4 separate regions of the Homo sapiens genome follow, and all the other regions are linked to region 1. The links are contacts of gene promoters, found by promoter capture Hi-C in blood cells and fetal thymus (Javierre and others, 2016). All regions are on one chromosome and are shown on one strand. Each heading gives the region's core, a stretch centred on a gene start or on the middle of the fragment in contact. The rest is flanking DNA. Distances are from core to core; before and after follow the strand shown. Region 1 holds the start of KRAS (KRAS proto-oncogene, GTPase). Region 2 overlaps RASSF8 (Ras association domain family member 8). Region 3 overlaps RASSF8 (Ras association domain family member 8). Region 4 overlaps RASSF8 (Ras association domain family member 8).

Region 1 (5,414 bases), core at 1,600-4,099:
TGGTCTACCTTAGACCAACTGAATAAAATATCTGGGTGAGGGGCCTAGGAACTTGCATTTTTGGTAGGCATGGCAGGTGATTCCTAAAGCATTTACCCTTGAGACCTCTATGTTAAGGAAAGAAAGGTAATGTTGCAAGGAGGTGGTGCCGGCTTCTAAGAAAGTACCCAGGACTGAACGGCAGAAAGACCTGACATACCATATGTATAAATTGCTGTGGAAGTGAAAAGGAAAGAGAAAGTGTCTGAGGTAAAACTGGAGTGTGGGGTGCGTGGAACAAATGGTTGGATGCAGATTTGCTTTACGAATCATGAGCCTAGATGATAACTGAGACCATGTGGATGGATTAGGTTTCTGCTAATGCCAGAATTTTTATAATCAGCATAAAAGTGCTATATAAAGCTTTCCCCTCTTCTATATTATAGTCCTTTTAAGATGTATGGAACATCAACTATAGGAAGAACATCATATTCACAGCTGTAAGAGGAAACAAGAACTTATCATGCACTTGATGTTGTACAAAATAAATCTGTGATTTATGCTTGAGTGACCACAAAGTAGCATACACATAAGCGCAAATTCATTCATTTAAGAATTCCTTGTGTCTATTATGTACGAGATAAGTATCTCTGAGCTGCACGGAATGTGGCTTATCAGAAGGTGACCTAAGTTTCAAAGCAGATTTTGTTAAGATGAAGACAGAGATTGACAGGAGGTTTAAGACACTCTGTCTAAAGTAAAGATTTAGAGTCACAGAGTTCATGGATTAGGATTTAGAATCCACAGAGGGTCCACAGATTCACTCATTCAACATTCCATAAATATTTATTGAATGCCTTTTTGTGTCAGAGACTGTCTTAGGTGCTGGAAATTTAGCAGTAAATGAAACAGACCAAAACCCATGCCCTCATGGAGCTTACATTCTGATGGTAGAGAGACAAGAAAACAAAATAGATAGTGTATTATTGAAGGTGATGAGAGCTCTGGAGAAAAAGTAGGAAAAGAGACAGATCTGGGACAAGGGCGAAATTACAGTATCAAAGATGATCTTTTTAGGGAAGATCTCCTTTTAAAAACACTTTGGAACAAAGATTTAAATGAGGTGCCAGAGGGGTAGCAAGTGCATATTCCCTGAGGAAGACGCCTGCCTGGCATTTTCAAGGAACAGCCAGTAACCAATGTTTATCTACGTAAGTAAGGAAGGGAGAACAGTAGGATGAGAGTTCAGAGAAGAGGGTAGGGGATATCAAATAATTTAAGGCCATGTAGGATTTTTGAGAAGAATTTTGCTTTTATGTCAAGTGGAATGAGGGCCACTGATGATCTGGGAGTAGAGTGACTATGATCCGACATGAAGTATACTCCATTTTTTAACTATGTGAACTTGTGCCAACGTTTTAACCTCTAAATCTGTTTCGTCATTTGTAAAACGGTAAAAAGTATTTTACCTCATAAGGTTGTCGTGATGATTAAATAAGATGATACGATAAGTGCAAAAGATTTAGCTTGTACTTAACATAGAGTAGGCACATTTTCTCCCCTTCCCTGTCTTTCACTTTTCTCTTCTGCCCCTTCCACCTGGCGCTAGGAGGGGGAGACTGGAATAAACCTTGCAGATTACAGCCCGTGTAAGAGTAGAAAGGAAAGGATGACAGTTGATGTAAAGCCTTGGTTAACAGACATAATAGCTGGGATTTAAATTCAGCTTTATTGGTGGTTTATGATGTGGACTAGAGGAATGGAACTGAAAGTCTCGGAGGAGGGGCGATCCTATCAGGTACAGGCGCTGCTTTTCCAGCCCTCAATCCTCAAGACTCTCCCAAGATACATTTCTAGGTAGTTTATCAACACAGACTCCGGGTATGCTAGCATGTTTAATTGCCCCATTGTTTAATGTCTTAACTCCACGAACTTTAACTGATTAATCTGTCTTCTAATTAATGTTTGAATGACTCTCCTCAGGTCTAAACTACCAAGGCCATCTCTACTTAAAAACAGTTGTCTTTTGTTTGTGATTTCAGGGGCCCTGGGTATAAGCGAAGTCCCTGTTTAGAGACCTTGTGATGGGTTCAAAATATCAAGAAAGATAGCAAAATATCACAAGCCTCCTGACCCGAGAAGATTAGCGTTGAAAGGGTCTGTCGTGTTTGTTTGGGCCTGGGGCTAAATTCCCAGCCCAAGTGCTGAGGCTGATAATAATCGGGGCGGCGATCAGACAGCCCCGGTGTGGGAAATCGTCCGCCCGGTCTCCCTAAGTCCCCGAAGTCGCCTCCCACTTTTGGTGACTGCTTGTTTATTTACATGCAGTCAATGATAGTAAATGGATGCGCGCCAGTATAGGCCGACCCTGAGGGTGGCGGGGTGCTCTTCGCAGCTTCTCTGTGGAGACCGGTCAGCGGGGCGGCGTGGCCGCTCGCGGCGTCTCCCTGGTGGCATCCGCACAGCCCGCCGCGGTCCGGTCCCGCTCCGGGTCAGAATTGGCGGCTGCGGGGACAGCCTTGCGGCTAGGCAGGGGGCGGGCCGCCGCGTGGGTCCGGCAGTCCCTCCTCCCGCCAAGGCGCCGCCCAGACCCGCTCTCCAGCCGGCCCGGCTCGCCACCCTAGACCGCCCCAGCCACCCCTTCCTCCGCCGGCCCGGCCCCCGCTCCTCCCCCGCCGGCCCGGCCCGGCCCCCTCCTTCTCCCCGCCGGCGCTCGCTGCCTCCCCCTCTTCCCTCTTCCCACACCGCCCTCAGCCGCTCCCTCTCGTACGCCCGTCTGAAGAAGAATCGAGCGCGGAACGCATCGATAGCTCTGCCCTCTGCGGCCGCCCGGCCCCGAACTCATCGGTGTGCTCGGAGCTCGATTTTCCTAGGCGGCGGCCGCGGCGGCGGAGGCAGCAGCGGCGGCGGCAGTGGCGGCGGCGAAGGTGGCGGCGGCTCGGCCAGTACTCCCGGCCCCCGCCATTTCGGACTGGGAGCGAGCGCGGCGCAGGCACTGAAGGCGGCGGCGGGGCCAGAGGCTCAGCGGCTCCCAGGTGCGGGAGAGAGGTACGGAGCGGACCACCCCTCCTGGGCCCCTGCCCGGGTCCCGACCCTCTTTGCCGGCGCCGGGCGGGGCCGGCGGCGAGTGAATGAATTAGGGGTCCCCGGAGGGGCGGGTGGGGGGCGCGGGCGCGGGGTCGGGGCGGGCTGGGTGAGAGGGGTCTGCAGGGGGGAGGCGCGCGGACGCGGCGGCGCGGGGAGTGAGGAATGGGCGGTGCGGGGCTGAGGAGGGTGAGGCTGGAGGCGGTCGCCGCTGGTGCTGCTTCCTGGACGGGGAACCCCTTCCTTCCTCCTCCCCGAGAGCCGCGGCTGGAGGCTTCTGGGGAGAAACTCGGGCCGGGCCGGCTGCCCCTCGGAGCGGTGGGGTGCGGTGGAGGTTACTCCCGCGGCGCCCCGGCCTCCCCTCCCCCTCTCCCCGCTCCCGCACCTCTTGCCTCCCTTTCCAGCACTCGGCTGCCTCGGTCCAGCCTTCCCTGCTGCATTTGGCATCTCTAGGACGAAGGTATAAACTTCTCCCTCGAGCGCAGGCTGGACGGATAGTGGTCCTTTTCCGTGTGTAGGGGATGTGTGAGTAAGAGGGGAGGTCACGTTTTGGAAGAGCATAGGAAAGTGCTTAGAGACCACTGTTTGAGGTTATTGTGTTTGGAAAAAAATGCATCTGCCTCCGAGTTCCTGAATGCTCCCCTCCCCCATGTATGGGCTGTGACATTGCTGTGGCCACAAAGGAGGAGGTGGAGGTAGAGATGGTGGAAGAACAGGTGGCCAACACCCTACACGTAGAGCCTGTGACCTACAGTGAAAAGGAAAAAGTTAATCCCAGATGGTCTGTTTTGCTTGGTCAAGTTAAACCCGAAGAAAACCCGCAGAGCAGAAGCAAGGCTTTTTCCTTGCTAGTTGAGTGTAGACAGCAATAGCAAAAATAGTACTTGAAGTTTAATTTACCTGTTCTTGTCCTTTCCCCTATTTCTTATGTATTACCCTCATCCCCTCGTCTCTTTTATACTACCCTCATTTTGCAGATGTGTTCTACATCTCAAGAGTTATTACAGTACTCCAAAACAGCACTTACATGATTTTTTAAACTTACAGAGGAATTGTAGCAATCCACCAGCTAACCGCCTGAAATAGACTTAAACATGTGCATCTCCTTTTTTTTTTTTTTTTTGAGACACAGTCTCGCTCTGTTGCCCAGGCTGGAGTGCAATGGCGCGGTATCGGCTCACTGAAACCTCCGCCTCCTGGGTTCAAGCAATTCTCCTGCCTCAGCCTCCCGAGTAGCTGGGACTAGTAGGTGCACGCCACCATGCCCAGCTAATTTTTGTATTTTTAGTAGAGACAGAGTTTCATCATGTTGGTCAGGATGGTCTCCATCTGCTCTGTTGCCCAGGCTGGAGTGCAGTGGCGCCGTCTCGGCTCACTGCAACCTCTGCCTCCTGCATTCAAGCAATTCTCCTGCCTCAGCCTCCCGAATAACTGGGATTACAGGTGTCTGCTGCCATGCCCGGCTAATTTTTTGTATTTTTAGTAGAGACGGGGGTTTCACCATGTTGGTCAGGCTGGTCTAGAACTCCTGACCTCGTGATCTGCCCGCCTCGGCCTCCCACAGTGGCATGTGCATCTTATAGCTGAAGTCTAAGCCTTCTTAAATCTTGAGATCCATCAAAACAGACAGGTTTTCTAATTGTTATACAATGTATATGTTATGTTTATAATAGAAATCATTTTACAAATAAGTTATAAATGGGAAAGGTCTATTTGTAATTATCAGCTCAGAATTAACCATAAAACTGGTGTCACTGAAGTGACTGAGGTCCAAAATGCTGACTCTGCATGTTATAGACTACAGATATCAAATATGGTTGCTAACAATAGTTTACTTTGAGACTGTAGCCATCCACAGTATATTTGCTTTTAAGAGATGGTAGATGGTAATTCAGTTTTATGAAAAATAAAAATGAATTTTCTTCCATTACAAAATTGTTGGATTCGAGTCCAGTCCACTCCTTACTAGCTTTTCTAACTCTCGGTGAGGGATCCCCTCCCAGCCCATGATCTTCATTTGGTAAGACTCCTTTGGAACCCAGTTCTCTCTAGTGGATTTAAATGTGATTTGGTTTTAAAAATCTCATTCAAGGAATTTTTTTTTTTTCTGGAAACAACCACCGCATAAACAAGTAAACCGGAAGATACATGTGGCTCTGAATTCATATATATACACAAACTCTAATCCAATGTCTGTCCACAGTATTTCCTAGGCTAGTAAACTTTTTGGCCTTAACGACCCCTCTACCCTCTTTGTTTTTTTGAGAGAGAGAGTCTCACTCTGTCACCCAGGCCGGAATGCAGTGGCGCGATCTCGGCCCGCTACTACCTCCGACTCTCAGGCTCAAGCG
Region 2 (5,414 bases), core at 2,056-4,555, 780 kb before region 1:
TATTGCTTAAAATATCTGGACCATGGTGATAAGGAAGGTCAGCTTTCAGGACTCTTAATTTTATTGTTTTCAAATTCTGTACAGACACTGTTTCCCACCCTGCCTCTTCCTACTGCCCCGCCCTGGGTACAGCACTGTCAAGCAATTATCCGAATTTAATCTTTACGGCTTTTATAGTCCCTGGGTAGACTTTTTCACACAATAAAAGAAGGGGATTTCAAACAAATTATTAGGCAACCAACCAATACTGTTAATAGTAAAATTAGATAAACTCTGAGATATAAAAGGAAAACACCAACTTCCTATCACTTAGATACTACTTTATCCTAGGGTAATACACATACAGTTTTTTGTTTTTTTTTTATTTTTTTGTGATGGAGTCTTGCTCTGTCGCCCAGGCTGGAGTGCAGTGGTGTTATCTCGGCTCACTTCAACCTCTGCCTCCTGGGTTCAAGTGATTCTCCTGCCTCAGCTTCCCTAATAGCTGGGCGTGTGCCACCAAGCCTGGCTAATTTTTTATTTTTTTATTTTTTATTTTTTTAGTAGAGACAGGGTTTCACCATGTTGGCCAGGCTAGTCTTGAACTCCTGACCTCAGGTGATCCACCTGCTTTAGCCTCCCAAAGTGTTGGGATTATAGGCGTGAGCCACTGCGCTCGACCAGACATACACTTTTTAAAAAATTCAAGTTACCAGTCTTCTGGGCTATATTAAATATTAAATATTAGTCTCAAAGTCATCTTGGCTCTTTTAAAATAAAAATTAGGACATCTTACATTAAAATTTAAAAAATGAAACTGTTCCAAATGGCCCATATATAAAAATAACTTTCTAAAAAATAATAAATATTGAAATAAGTATCAAAATTTTAAGAATAGCTTAAATTTTTGTTAAATGCTTTTCTATTTATTCCTTGGTAAGAATTTTTCAGTTCAAGAAACAGAAGCCTTCTCTTTTTCTTGAAGGGATGGATGAAACAAAACAAAACGAAACAGAAACAGAAGCCATTGGTTTCCCCCGATGTGCCCTCCAATTATAAAGATATGATTCACAAAAAATATTCAGAGCGTCTCTGCCATTGCTGATCTTATCCAGAAGTTAGCGAGGAACATGGATTTAAGCAAGAGAGGCCCAGATGTAGATTAATATTAAAGAGATGAATGAGTGATCACTGGGAGTAAACTAGGTTGTTCTTGAATGGATTTGAGCTGAAGAAAAAAGCTAAAATGAAGAAGCTGTCATGGTATCTGCCCTTTAGACTGAGTTTGGGCCCTTATGCTCAGAGGAGTGAAATCATGGATGGCTTTATATATATATAAATTATAAATATATAATATATAAAAATATATGAAATATATGATATATATCATATATATGAAATCATATATGATTATAATTATATATAATATATAATATATAATTTTATTATATTTTATATAATACATAATTATATGAAATTATATTATATATAATTTCATATATTGTATATCTAGTGATGTATATCATATATATCAGATATATAGTGATATATGTATTATATGCTACTTGGGCTAGAAATGGAAGAACTTCACACAGTTAACATTTCTTTAAAAAAAAACAAGTGTTTATTGTAAGAGAAAAAATTTTAAGCCCAGAAAATACTGAAAAGGTGAAATTATATAATTATATAAAATTATATATATAATTATGTATACAATATAAAATTATATATACAATATATAATATAAAATATATACACTATATATAATTTTTATATATAATTTCATATAATTATATTATATAATTATATAATTTCATATAATTATATAATTATATAATATAATTATATAATTTCATATACTTATATTATATAATTATATAATTTCATATACTTATATAATTATATAATTTCATATAATTATATTATATGATTATATAATTTCATCTTTTCAGTATTTTCTGGGCTTAAAATTTTTTCTCTTACAATAAACACTTTCATTTTGTTTAAAGAAATATTAACTGTGTGAAGAAGTTCTTCTGTTTCTAGCCGAAGTAGCATTCTTCTCAGCCAACTTTGAAGACAGGGACTAGCTATCACTAAACCCTACAACTTATCATACAAGAGTAAAACTGGTTGGAAAGCCATTTCCACAGAGTAGGGGTCAGTGCCTTAGTACAGCCTAGAAGAGAAGTTCATTAACTAACCTTACTTCTAGGGATTAATAATTTTTACCAGTAGTATTGGACAACTGGAAAAACGTCTATTAAAGTTTATAGGGCAACACCAGAGTAATCACCATAATACCAAAAATAGGATAGTTCATAGTGACTAATTCACACAGAAATTAAAAACCAAATGCTATGACAAACAGTACCTAGAAAGGTAAAAGCAGTCTACAACAAACCAATGAGAATGCATCTACACTTGGTGAATCTGCTGTATGGTGTTTTTTAGTTAGATGTTTTTTTTTAATGTAGCTTAAATATCATGAATTTTAATAGGCACATTACATGGAAAAGATGTAATAAATAATTTTGCTGTGTTTGGATCTTATCCCACCCTTGTTTGATTTCCCCTCATGCATTCTAGCTAGGATGTAAAAAGTAGGAGGTTCCTTAATTTCGAAATATGGGAAATAAATGCTGGAGGAAAAGGAATAGGAGTTACTTAGCCTGTCAGAAAGAATAATGATCTTTTTCTCCCCCCTAAGATTATTTGCTTAGTCATTCCCACTGAAAAGAATGAGTTTAATTTTGGAAGTGGTAGGAATGATAGAAATCCTAGATCAAGCTTGTCCAACATGTGGCCTGCGGGCTGCATGCGGCCCAGATGGCTTTAAATGCGGCCCAACATAAATGCATAATCTTTCTTAAAACATCATGAGATTTTTTTTTTTTTTTTACTTCATCTGCTATTGTTAGTGTATTTTATGTGTTGCCCAAGTCAATTCTTCTTCCAATGTGGCCCAGGGAAGCCAAAAGATTGAACACCTCTGTCCTAGACAGACCATAGGGCTATTTTGTCCTGCCCCTGTGGACTTAGGGACATTGACACATCTCCCCTCACTCCTACTCCTTCACCCCCAAATCCCAGCTAATGCTGTGATTATCTTAGTTGAACAGTGTGCCACGTGCTTACCATTTGCCCACCTCACTCCAGCCCGTTCTTCAACTACTCCCCACCTTTGTGAGGCAGCCACATCTCCCTGCCCTGCCATGTATTGCTTCCTCTGCTTGGAACATCTTTCTCCCCACTCCACCACCACCTCCCTGCTAGCTTGCTGGGGTCTGGTCGACATGATGGTGGTGGGGAGAAGGCACCAGCAGATCCAAGTGCTTCCTCTTTGCTAGGCACATACAACGACTCAGAATAATCCACTGAGGTCATGTTTTTATTCTCATCCCCATTTTACAAATGAGGCCCTGGAGGCTCAGAAAGGTGAACTAGTTGGAGACAATACAACTGGTAGGAGATGGGAGCTGAGATCTGAGTGGAGGCTGATTTGAGAGTCCTGGCATTCAACCTTTATCTGGAAGGTGGCAAACTTGACAGGGACAAGGCAGATGTGCATATTAAATGCAAAGAAACAGTTTTCACCTCCACAAAGAAATATGCCATTAAAAAATTTCAATACTTGGCTCTACGTTTCTTTCTTTCTATGAAGATGGATACTATTCATCTTATGCCTCTATCATTAAAAAAAAGAAACCCAACAGTGTTTGCAGAACTTATTTCCTTTTTCCCTCCAAAATAACAATCTGGATAATCATATTAATATCATTTTTCTAGCAAAACCACTTACATTCTAGAAAATGCTAATGTGCTTTTAGCATGAAAGAATGAAAATAATACCTAAGCTTTAACACAAATATAGTGGAAAAATATAAAAAGATGTGGAAGATCTCATTATTCTTGTCATTTTATATTGTGAAATCAAAAACATGCTATAAAACAATTTGTGGGTTTTCTGTTATGACCTGAAAGATCACAATTTTTACTTAGTGCTTCAATACATACATGAGAAAATACCAAATTCTTTTGCTCAAAGGAACTCCAGCATACCTTGAAATGGCCTGAGAGCTGAGCCTCAGTTTTGGTAAGAATGTGGTCTCCCACTGATCAACTTGATCCCCTCTGGTCTCATTACAGAGTATTTATGATTCAGCTGAACCATTTAGCAACATTTAAACCATCCTTAGTATTTACCTCAGGGGAAAAGTCACATTTCAAGGATAGTTGAAGTATCTAATATATTTAGTTGCTACTCTAAAGAAGACAGGCCTGCTTGAAAACAAGATCACAGCATACATTGCTCTCTGCAGGACCTCTGTGGGTAGGAAGCTCTTTCTTTTAACTGATTATGTAATATTTTAGCTTTGGTAGTAAAAGATTCCAGATGTTTACTCTAACAGCTTTGTAGACACATGGGGATTGATGTTAGACACATAATCACTGGTTTTGGAGCAGGGCCAATTGTGTACATACGCTGTTTAATTATGTTGACACTCCAGACATTTCAAACATCAACAGAATTTCTCAGCTCATATTCCCATTATGATTCCTGCTTTAAATGATTATAGATGGGTATGGAAACTGGGCATTACGCATGCTAATGAAATCTATCTAGCTCTTTTCACTTTTAATAGATTTGGAGGTTTCATGGGTTAAAACTCCCTTAAGCTATAAATTGCAGGTAAATATAATAAAAAAACTGCCAGGAAACATTTCCCTCAGAATTTTTTGTTGCATGCTAATGTAGCAATTTCAAAAAAATTTGTCATTGTTCTCCTTCCTAAAAATTCACATGTCACAAGGGAACCTTTGACTCAGCCATGAAACAGTCCCAAGAGTCCTAGAACTTGACTTTGGGAAATACTTCTCCATACAAACAGTGCTAGAAGTTTGTTTTCTATCAACATTCCAAAGTTTGTTACCTAGATGATTTGGAACAACCTGCTATGAGTACGAAAAACATACACAGAATTTTAATGTATATTAATGACTCAAATTTCTCCCACTTCCTTTCGGGGAAAATGAAGCAATAACATACACAATATTCCCATAAACTTTTTAAAAGACATTTCAAAGTTTTATATGTGAAAATGCAAAATGACTAGCTCATCACAAGAAAGGATAAACTGGGCTAACAAACTGCTACAAACTGAAGGACCTTTTCAAAAAAGCAAGCTCAATGGAAAATTCCCTGATTGGTAAATTTTCCAGATACAAAATTTCCAAGCATCTCAAGACCATAGTTCTCCTAAGTCACTACTTCTGGGATATGGGAAGTTTCCTTCATGTACTGTAAGCTGCTGACATCATGCACATAAATGTAAACCAAAACATGTATTTCATCAAAGTAACTAACATGATGATGAGAAACAGGATATTTTGAAACATATTTATAAGCAAAACATATAGGTCAGATTAAGCCA
Region 3 (5,414 bases), core at 1,364-3,863, 740 kb before region 1:
CCATAAATACAAACATGAGCTCTGGCAGGTGTGCGAGTACCTAGGAAGGCAATGAGAAACAAGAGGCTTAAGTGAAAACGGTCTCAGGAAACTGCAGGCACTGTGTTTTTTCCACAAACCCCTTCACATCCCTTCCCGTGGCTGTCCAGGCCCACCTCCAGTGCCTCCCCTGAAGCCACCATGTAGCATGCATTACCTCACCCCACTTCAGTTTCCCTGCCTCTCCTTCAAGTTGGCATCCCAGGTGCGGGCCTTACCAAATTTTTGTGCTGGCCAAACTCCAACTCACTCTCCAAGACTCCACTCAAATATGATCTCATCACTCCCTGGAAACTCCCCTTATCAAAACTAGTCACTCCAGGTATTCTCAAGTGGCTGACACTTAGTACTCACTGGTACTGTTCATCGAATTCTCACAACAACCCTGTGAGGCAGGTAATATGTAATAAGGGAATAATTAGAAAAGAATCAAAAGGTTAAATAACTGGCCCAGGGTCATAGAGCTAAACAGGAGAGGCAAGAACTGAACTCAAGCAAATTGACCTCAGAGCCCATGTTCTTCAACAACTGTTTGAAATGTTTGCCTCTTCTTGAGGGCAGAGACACTTTGCACTGACACCTGCATTCACATTGCCTAACACATAAGTGGTACTCAATAAATGTCTGCTGAAGGCTTGATGAATTCAGAGGGTTTTACAGAATGGCAGCAGATTGTACAGTGGTTCTGAGCTTATCCTCAGTGAAAGTCCTGCTCACCTAAATGATTCCTTTTACCTAGATATAATACTCCTATTACCACATGTCTGAAAAACAGTTATCTATTATACAAATATTTGAAATGACCATAAATCAATGAACACCAACATGTAATTATGGGGAAAAGGAGAGGATAAAAATTGGGGCAGCCCCACCAATAATTATATTATTTTTGGTAAAACTTAACGTGATTCAAACATTAATTGGACACTTATAAAAATGTGCTAAAGATTAAGCATTCTTTTATTTTGGTAGCTGGCCTCCACAATGGCCCCCAATGGTTTTCACACCCTTGTGTATTCTTCTCCTACAATGAACAGAGATAACCTGTACAGCCAACAGGATATTGTGGAATGATGACATAAAGACATGGTAGCTTCCATCTTGCTCTCTCTGATCACTTGTCCTGATATAAGCCAGACATTCAAGCAGCCCTATGGAGAGGTCCACATGGTGAGGAGCTGAGGCCTTCTGCCAACAACCAGCGCAAATTTGTGAGGCATGTGAGTGAACCACCTTGGAAGTAGATTTTCCAGCCCCAGTCAAACCTTCATGTAGACTACGTACAAAATGGACTGTCACCTAGGTTGCAACCTTATTAAAGATCCAGAATTAAAACCATTCACCCAAGCCATTCCTGGATCCCTGATCCAAAGAAACTAGGTGAGAGTTCAAAAAAAGAAAAAAAAAAAAGTTACGTCTGTAGGCATGGGGCAACTTGTTATGCAGTAATAAGTAATTTATTTAAATTAAATAGTTTATAGCAATGCAAATAGAAGTTATTGATGTTAACACAATATCAGGTTATTGTAATTTCTAAACACTGAACAAAAGCAAAATAGAATGCTCAAGAATAACTCAAGAGCAAAATAAATTCCAGTTTCCAAGAGGCTCTACCTTTTTTTTTTAAACAACAGAAGAATGCAAACCCTTCATTTCCTTGTATATTTCTTTTAATGACAGCTGATTAATTGTTGGGTGTGCTCCCTTCCTCCAAACTAGGCCCACCAGGACAGATAATCAATGGACAATATTGACATTTCTATTACTGTAAAAATGAGAAGAGTTTATTGCTCTGGTTATTTAAGTATTATAGATCAGCTAAAAAGTCTAAAAGTTTTGGAGGAAACCAGCTACTCTCTACTCTGTGACTCCAAGATCCCCAAAATGTTTTCTGTGTGTGTGTGTGTGTATTTTTTTAGGCACATTTCTTTTTATTGAAAAGAGAAAACCCGTTTGAAATTGTAAATATTCAACTACAAATAAACTATGGTAGCACATTTTCATAAGTGATATCCCTGTGTATCCACAAAATAAACTATAAATACTACAGAATTCTAAACTATTCCTAAATTTTTGTTGTCTAATAAAAGAGTGGGAACATTCAAGGTGGTTTTTTCACCTTGTCATCAAAATACAAAGACTTACATCTCCAAATATAATTCAGTTTTGCTAAACGCAATACACAATGTTAGTAAGGAAGGTATCTTAGGTTTTACATAGTCCATATGAAATGTTAATAAGATGATCACAGAAACAATAAGGTAGATATTCTATGGAAATAAATCCATTATGATGCTATTAAGCTATATTAGTTTGCAAAGCAGAGAAAAATGGTAATACCAAAATTAATTATTTATATAATAAACCTTTACCAAGCTCTTATCATATTTAAAATACCACAGGGATTACAATGATGAAGATATGGGTTTCATTCCACTAACTACAGTACTTGTGAAATGTAACTAATGCCTAGTAACAATAGTATCAAATAAATGTTTGATAAACACCAAAGAGATTTGGAAAAAAGCTACAGCAGAGTTCATACAAGAGAAATCACTAATGGCTGGTGGATATCCAGGAAGCCTTCATGAAATAAGCCCCTTATGCTTATATATGGCTGTAATTTTTTTTACTTTTTTCACATTAATTTATCAATATTCCCATTATACAGGTTATACAAAGTTGAGGTTAAGATTAGGTGACTTGATCAGGATGCATTTCCTTGCTTTAAAAAGTAATAATAGGCACTCAACAAATAAGTCCCAGGCACCACTCTGCCCAGTTCAGACACTGTTCACAACCTTGTCAAGGTCAATCCTACAGTCTCCATTTTGCACATGAAGAAACTAAGATTTCAGATTTAGTACCTTCCCGGGTTCAGGTGACTAGTAAACGGTGGAGCCCTGATTTGAACTCAGATGTACTTGATTTTAAAACTTCTGCCAGACTCCCATACTGGGTAAATTCACCTATCCCATGCTGCTCTTAGCAAATGTTCATACTCTCTACCATAATTCCTCCACCCCCATGCCCCACCACACCCTTGACCTAATAAACTGATCCATAAACCATAAGGAATTGAAATGCATCCTTGTTAGTCTTATGATTTGTTATTAAATGTTATGCAAGAAATCAGAAGAGTGGCAGAGGAGAAGGGATAAGACAAGAAAGAGATATGATCAATTGTTTTTTAAATAGCTAAGTAATCATTTTTGTTTAAACCAGTTTGGAAAATGAATTTCATCAACTTTAGTAGACAAGCTATAAGATGACTATTTGAATAAAGTCTCCTTCTCCTGGATAACACTTCAATATTTCACACAACAGAGAGCTTTTTTCAGAAAACCAACTTCGCCGTTTTGATAAGTATTCATCATATTATTTAGGTGTCTTCTATCATTCCAATTTGAATCAGAAAGAAAGAGGGGGTGGGGGGAAAGAAAGACACTGTTAAATGCCTATAGATTAAGACAAATATAAAACACACTAGTAGTAGAAACTGTGTTTCACTATAGAACACACATCAGAAAATGTGAAATCAGGACATACTAAAGGTTTACATCAAGGAAGCCCCCAGAAAAGAACAGTATGGCTGTGGGTGTGACCCAGTGATTATGAGAAAACATATGGTTGGGCCTTAGTTTTAAGAGAAAACATTCTGACAGGCAGAAATGTTGGGAGGGAAAGAAACCTGAAGAACAGACAAGTAGAATCACTCTGCAAAGGAGACATTGTAAATCTGTCTTTACTACCGCTTGGTAAGTACAAGGCTCTGTTGGAGGCACAGTGAGTTTGCAGAATTCCAGCAAGATAGGCATACCCCTCAGAGATGCTTTCTAAAATCAAGAAAAATTCAAAAAGCTAACTAGTTTTTAAGTTAAGTGAAGAAAATTACAAAGGTAATTAAACAGATGTTGTGAACCATCCTCCAGGAGACAGTTTCTCTAAACATACTATAGGAATTCTCGGGAGGTTTCCACACTGTTTTGTTACTTGTTTAGACCCATTTCCCTACCATACCATGGAATCCCATCCCATTTCTTCTTTATGGTCCCACCACCTAGCACAGGATCTGGCAAACTCAATAAATGAGAACCAGAGGAAGGCCAGGAGGGGTTCCTGATAAAGCAGGAATTTCACATACTATTTCCTGAACTGGCAGTGCAGGTGGCTGATACAAATCTCTCTTCTTCTCCCCTACAAATGATTGTTTAGTCATGAGGGAGAGGGCTATTTTCTAAATGAAAGAAATTTTTTTTATTAAATTGTGACTTTAAGTTCTATTTTTGTACTAACAGAAACGAATCCCAAATAATGACTGCAGTCACCATTCCCCAATCACCCTGGAAATTTTTCTAAATACTACAGATTGCTCTAGTTAACCCCATCTTAGCTCATCGGATTTGATTATCCAGCTTATTGTGTGAATTAACCATCTGTTCAATAATAGGACTGCTACCAGACAAAAAGAAAAGTTCCAAGATTGCTTTTAAAGACCTGACAGTTTTGAGTTGAAGGCTGTCTGCATGGATGTTTTATACTTTTTCCCACTGTGTTCCCTTTATGGTCTCAAAAAAACTTATTTTAAAAAGAGCCTACTAAAAAAGCAAGCTCAAATGCTAGGAAGGAATTCATTTTTTAAAAAATAACATTAATTTCGACCAGGCGTGGTGGCTCACACCTGTAATCCCAGCACTTTGGGAGGCCGAGGCAGGCAGATCACGAGGTCAGGAGTTTGAGACCAGCCTGGCCAGCATGGTGAAACCTTGTCTCTACTAAAAGTACAAAAAAAAAAAAAAAATTAGCCAGGCATGGTAGTGCATGCCTGTAGTCCCAGCTACTCAGGAGGCTGAGGCAGGAGAATCGCTTGAACCCGGGAGGCAGAGGTTGCAGTGAGACGAGATCACGCCACTGCACTCCAGCCTGGGTGACAGAGTGAGATTCCATTTCGAAAAAATAAATAAATAAATAATAAAAAACCAAAAATTAATTTCAAGCAACAATGACCTTCATTCTCTTTTTAAAAAAGAGCTGGTAGAAATTTTTGGCATATATTTTAAAAGGCAAAAAATATAGAAAGTGAATAATATTCTACTGTTGGATAGAAAATGAATACAATGTGTTGGCATGTTCAAGTATGTTTTAAACAACTATTTAATTTCCTAAATTGAGCTGTTGCATAATGTATGTTAATTCTGAATATTGTCCTTATTTCAGTGCAAAGAAAAGCATAAACAATAAAGCCACTTCAAGCTGAAGAAAAAATTATCCTTAGGTTTAAACACCACTTAAACCGGGCACTTGTACAGATTATACTTTACCTGTTTCTGAAACCTTATCATTTCCTGCCTTAGTATGGAATTAAAGCATCCCAG
Region 4 (5,414 bases), core at 2,226-4,725, 710 kb before region 1:
TCTAATAAAAATGTAAAAAATTAGCTGGGCGTGGTGGCGGGGACCTGTAGTCCCAGCTACTCAGGAGGCTGAGGCGGGAGAATGGCATGAACCCGGGAGGCGGAGCTTGCAGTGAGCCAAGATCGTGCCACTGCACTCCAGCCTGGACGACAGAGCAAGACTCCGTCTCAAAAAATATATAAATTAATTAATTAAATAAAGCTGTTTAAAAAAAGAAATATAAGGGAAGTCATTATACACTAAAAAGAAAAAATACAGCACAAATAAACTACTATAAGATATTCTGACATTTAACGTATTAGAACTTCCCATAGAAATGAACAAATTTTACCTTCAACATTACAAAACATCCCTATTTCTCACTGGTATTTTTACAGTAGAGTTTCATCGATTATAAATCCACTCAAATATTTTAAGCAAAAATAAGGGTAAAACCTTACTTTCTGCCCAATATCTATCCATTAAAGAGAATCCCAATTTCTTTTAAACATATATACTTGTATCTGGAAGAATAATTTAGTCTTAAGCGATTTTCCAATAGTAAAATTACTATAAGGATAAACATGATTTAGCACTCACGAGCCAATGATAGCTAACAACAGTGACCAAATATAACAACAGTGACAAAATATATTACCTACATAAAACCTGGTAGCAAACCATCACAGCTCTCCTCTTGTTATAACCTGCATTTACATCTGATTTCTTTTTAAAACAAAGAGTAAAACATATGCTAATGAGTAAGAAAATATTTTGCTGCATACATAAAATTTGGACAGCCCTACAGTTCACTGCAATATTTTGTGATATATCTGAATGTGATTTAAAAAAAAAAAAAAACACTTGCTAAGAATAGCTTTCTAAATCCTATAGCAAGTCTGTGAAATAAATGGGTAATAAATATTATTGGTGTTAAAAAGCTCAAGGCAACTTGTTCAAGGTCACCCAAGTAACCAGTGGACATATATACATGGTGGAAAAAAAATAACAAGGGTTCCCAACCATAACTTTCCTCTCCTCCACAGTGGCAGCTACTCGTGATGCGAATGTCCTGCAGGCACAGAGGGCCTACACGAGGCAAATCACCTGGTGTGCCCCTCTCAGGGCTTGCTCTCAACATTTTTAAAATCAGGTCTAAATAAGCACCAGGGTAAGGGTCTGGCTTGCAGGGGCATCTCTCTCTTCTCATGCCTTCCTGACTAGAAAATCAGGAGTGGGGAAATGTAGGAACAAAAGGAACAATTTTCTTTTGTGAAGCAAATATATGGAAAGAAAGCCTAAGCTTCACTTTTCCAATTCTGACCAGATAAACTACTCACTCCTCCTCTTCGAGAGCACCCAACAGGGGCTCAAAAATGCTGCTTTCATCCTCCTTGCTCTCCCAACCCAAGAGCACCCAGGCTACGGAAACCTCAGGGTCCAGACCACTCAAAGGATCACAGTTTGGGAACCCCCGAGGTGGACTGCAGAGGAGTACGTTCTGAAGGACTTGAATCAGCTCCAAAGTGCCCCCACACACTCAGTGATCTATAAGATACAAAACTAGAAAGAACTAGAACTACACTCTAAGGGTGTGAGGAAATGATTTTTAAGGAATACTAAAGTCCTAAAAAACAAGTCAAGAGAAAAATGCAGAATTATGTAAGAAGTAGAGATTACAAACATCAATAACAGACATAAGTACTTCAGAGTTAGAGGACATCAAGCTAATATTTCGTAAAGAGCAACCACATGACAAAAATACTCAAAGCTGTAAGCCTTCCTTGGCCTTGGAAGGTCATGAGACTTTTTTTTTTTTTTTTTTTTTTGGCTAAAACAAGGAATGCTTTAGTGAGAGAGAAGAAAAGAACTTCCAGACTTCTAGGTGGCTCCCACTTTTTTTAAAAAAAACTCCTCCTCTCTCTTAAGTGTATGGTCCAGTGATGTCTGGTTACCATGCAAGTCACATCAACAGCTGGACAGCACTGAGCATCCTTAGAACTCTAGGTCTTGTTTTTCTACTAAAGTTTTCCCAATCTTCCTTTGATGTCTGGCACCACCAGCCGACAGCAGCTGACTAACGTGTTATCATGTGACGCTCTGTAAAATAGTAAGGCACAGTAAGATTTTTTTTCCTTTCAGTAAGCTTATGCTGATAAAAAAATAATTATTTTAATGATGTATTTAGAAAAAGGATTATGTACAACAGAAAGTCACAAGGGTAACACTAATTAAAAGGTGTCTCAATTTATTACTACGAATATTTCACAGAACCTACATGCATTTTTACCTGATATTTGCAAAGGCCGTTTCATATTATACATATAACCAGCAAAGAAGGAATATAGAAAAGTGTGGGTCTGGCTTTTCTATCATGAAAAGCAAATTTAACAGTGATAAAGAAGGCAATCAAGATACAAATACAGAAGCCAGGCATGGTGGCACACACCTGTAGTCCCAGCTACTCAGGAGGCTGAGGCAGGAGGATCACTTGAGGCCAGGAGTTTAAGACCAACTGGGCAACATAGTAAGACTCCATTTCAAAAAAAAAAGATAAAGATACAAACTGATATTACGATCTTACTCATTATATCAACATATTTATTGAGCACCTACTACATATACTGGGCACTGGTGATTAAACCAGGTATTATCAACTTCATATTAACCTAAAGGGCAAGAAAAGGACCCTAAGTGATTAAATAATATATAAATTGTGGTAAATATTCAGAAGCAAAAGTGATTACGCTATGAGGGAGAAAATAAAGGACATTTAATTCGCATGACGATAAGGGTGGGCTTGTCAGAGAAGACCTTTATGAGAAAGGACATTTGAGCTAGCACCCAAGGATGATAAGTTACTCAAGGAGATGATCCTAAAATAGGGAGACCAACAGCATGAGCCACAGGCCTGAGGCTAGTCTGCTGGAGAACTGGCCAAGATGACAGCAAGAGATGCAAGTGGATGTAGAGATCAAATCATGCAGGATCCTGAAGTAATGTCAAGGATTTGGTATCTTATCCCAAAAATAAATAAATGTGTTTCCTGAGAGCCCTGACAACTTTAAGACGGCAAATACTTTTTCTTTTTTTTTTCAGGCTGCTGGTAGTAAAACAGACTGCAAGGGGTGCAGAGTGTGTGCAGGAGGCACCGCACCAAGGAAAAAGATAATACAGTACAGTGGCTTGCATTAGGATGGCAGAATAGTGGGGACTGAAAATCAGACCGGTTTGAAAGAGATTTTGCAATAAAAATGGACAGCAGGACTTTATGATGGACTGGTTTGCTAGGGCTGATAGAAGAAAAGAGAGAGTGGAGTGAGCTACTCCTTGGATGGATGAGATGAAAAATGGAGGGGGAACAGTTTGAAAGTTTGAGTGACCAAGAGCTCAATTCTGAAGGAGTTTGAGATGTTGTCATTTATTGGCTGAAATGTGCCAGGCACATCTAATATATATTAGATGTTCTACTCACCATAGCATCCCTTTAAGTAGTGGTATCCCCATTTTCCAGAAATGCAACTGTAGATCACAGAGGCTGAAGTGGCATGGCCGAGCTCACTCACCTCGGGAGTGACAAAGTCACACGTGCAACCCAAGTCTGGCTGGCAGTGGGGTAAACATTCTTTCCACTATACAGAATACTTGGAAACTCTCTCTACACTTTGAATTTTTAAGTCTATTTAGGGTTAGAGCAAGTTAGCATCAAAGAAGAGTAAATAAACGTTATATTATTTTGTAATCCAAATCTTTAATTTATGATGCATGTTTTTCTATCCAACTCCCATTCCCACTCCACTTTTACTTGCAAAGAGTTTTGTAATGTTTTGAACACTAGCAAGATATCTAAGATCTTAATGTTTTATAATAAAGGAGCAAAGCCATTATGCCAGGAATTAACCATAAGAAAAAGACAACAATATCCCACGGCAAACAATATTTTTACTTCCAAGTCATTATATACATCAACATAAAACAGATCAATTAATGAGTCAGAAACCCTGAAGAACTAATCATTTCTCAAAACACAAGGCAGTCAGGTCAAAAACTGACGTAAGTCACCACGTATAGAAGCCTACAAGAGCCAAACACTGAAGATTCAGGTTAAAAGGTTGCAACCTTAAAAAAATAAATAAAAGGCAAAACAAATTATACAACCATGTCGAATTTTAAATCTGTAATTACCAAATATCTGAACCAAATGCCAAATTCAGGAAACATGCATCCTATAAACAACTTAAACACTCTCTGTTCTTTGTAACTGTTTTTTCCAGAAGCACACTGACACTTCTGCAAAGTGAAGTGCCTTTCCTGCCTGCACAGCCCCATGATTTGCTCCCTCTCAGGGCCCTCTAATGCACCCCTAAGCTACTAAAGCCCAGACATAAGATTTGATCAATAAACCTAGAAAGAACTCAGTGCATTACTGCCAATTGTGTCCATCACAGAAAGTACCACCTGGAGACTCTTGAGGAAAAAAATGAGGAAGGGGGAGATTTTTGAAAGGTTTTATCATCTGTATTACAAATTATATTTTGTTGTACTTGATCCTTGAATAGAATAATCATCAAACTATGTTCAGTCTTCTTCAAGTGGGGGATGGTCATGTGTAATTTTATGGTTTGGGGAGTGTGCCTCATAGAGATAAATAAAATTAAAAGTACCATTAGTATGCCCGCTAAAAGATAAAACTCACACAAACCACTTCCCCAAATGATAGTGCTGTCTCCTGCGTCCTGATTTTTGCGTCCACCCTGCACCTCTCCCTGCAGAAAGCTGGCTGGCATTCACTACCGCCTCACTCTGGCAAAGGACAGGATGTCGAAAACCCATTAAGAAAGCTTCTCATTTTCTGTTCCTTCATAACATGATGGCAACTCCTGGCAACTCCAAGATGAAAGGCAAAAAAGAAAATAAAAACTACCTGGGGCCCCCTACCAGAATGAGTGGTTAATCTAATGGAGAGAAAAGCAGAGATTTATACATATTTTAAAATGCTTCCTGGGGACAAAGCAGATCTAATGAATTGCTGAGCCACAATCTACTGGAAAATCCATAAATGTTCGTCCCTGCTGTCACAGGGCTAGAGGATTTTTTTTTTTAATGAAATGCTTTAATGCTAACCTGACAGGGCTAACCTGACAGGTTTAAGTCAGCTATGAGACGTGATTTGCATTCATTTCGCTTCTAAATCCCTAAAGATCAGCAACAATATTGACCCGCAATTATATATCCTACGTTGCACTGTTCAAGATGCCATTTGAGGCTGGGAAAGTAGTGGTTTAGCAACACCAGGCGGCTCTATGATGCTAAAATAACAACGCAACACTGGATTCCGAACCCAAGTACTCATCTTTTAAAACCCAGTGCCGCACCAGGACCCACATTCAAAGCTCGCGTCCCTTCAAGTTGAATCTTCCGGCTTTGTGCGATTT

The links. The method cuts DNA at HindIII sites, captures the fragments that hold promoters and counts their contacts. A CHiCAGO score of 5 or more calls a contact.
Region 2: a contact is called between a fragment that was not itself captured here and the fragment with the promoter of KRAS in region 1, in 1 of 17 cell types (M2 macrophages). The highest score is 6.7, in M2 macrophages.
Region 3: a fragment that was not itself captured here is called in contact with the fragment with the promoter of KRAS in region 1 in 1 of 17 cell types (M1 macrophages); the score reaches 5.5 in M1 macrophages.
Region 4: a fragment that was not itself captured here is called in contact with the fragment with the promoter of KRAS in region 1 in 2 of 17 cell types (M1 macrophages and fetal thymus); the score reaches 5.3 in M1 macrophages.

Annotation. Positions count from the first base shown.
Region 1 is chr12:25,248,364-25,253,777 of GRCh38, reverse strand. It overlaps KRAS (KRAS proto-oncogene, GTPase), which reads left to right and starts at 2,849. Exons shown (of 5, transcript NM_004985.5): 1 at 2,849-3,027. RefSeq lists silencers at 2,289-3,138, 3,199-3,248. The HindIII fragment of the contact is 14,779 bases long and covers 405-5,414 here.
Region 2 is chr12:26,031,873-26,037,286 of GRCh38, reverse strand. The region is part of intron 2 of RASSF8 (Ras association domain family member 8); the gene reads right to left. Among named protein-coding and RNA genes, the nearest start is that of RASSF8-AS1, 75 kb to the right of the region's middle. The HindIII fragment of the contact is 1,067 bases long and covers 2,772-3,838 here.
Region 3 is chr12:25,987,445-25,992,858 of GRCh38, reverse strand. All of the region lies in intron 1 of RASSF8 (Ras association domain family member 8), which reads right to left. Among named protein-coding and RNA genes, the nearest start is that of RASSF8-AS1, 31 kb to the right of the region's middle. The HindIII fragment of the contact is 5,683 bases long and covers 1-5,414 here.
Region 4 is chr12:25,959,716-25,965,129 of GRCh38, reverse strand. The region is part of intron 1 of RASSF8 (Ras association domain family member 8); the gene reads right to left. Among named protein-coding and RNA genes, the nearest start is that of RASSF8-AS1, 3.0 kb to the right of the region's middle. The HindIII fragment of the contact is 2,695 bases long and covers 2,128-4,822 here.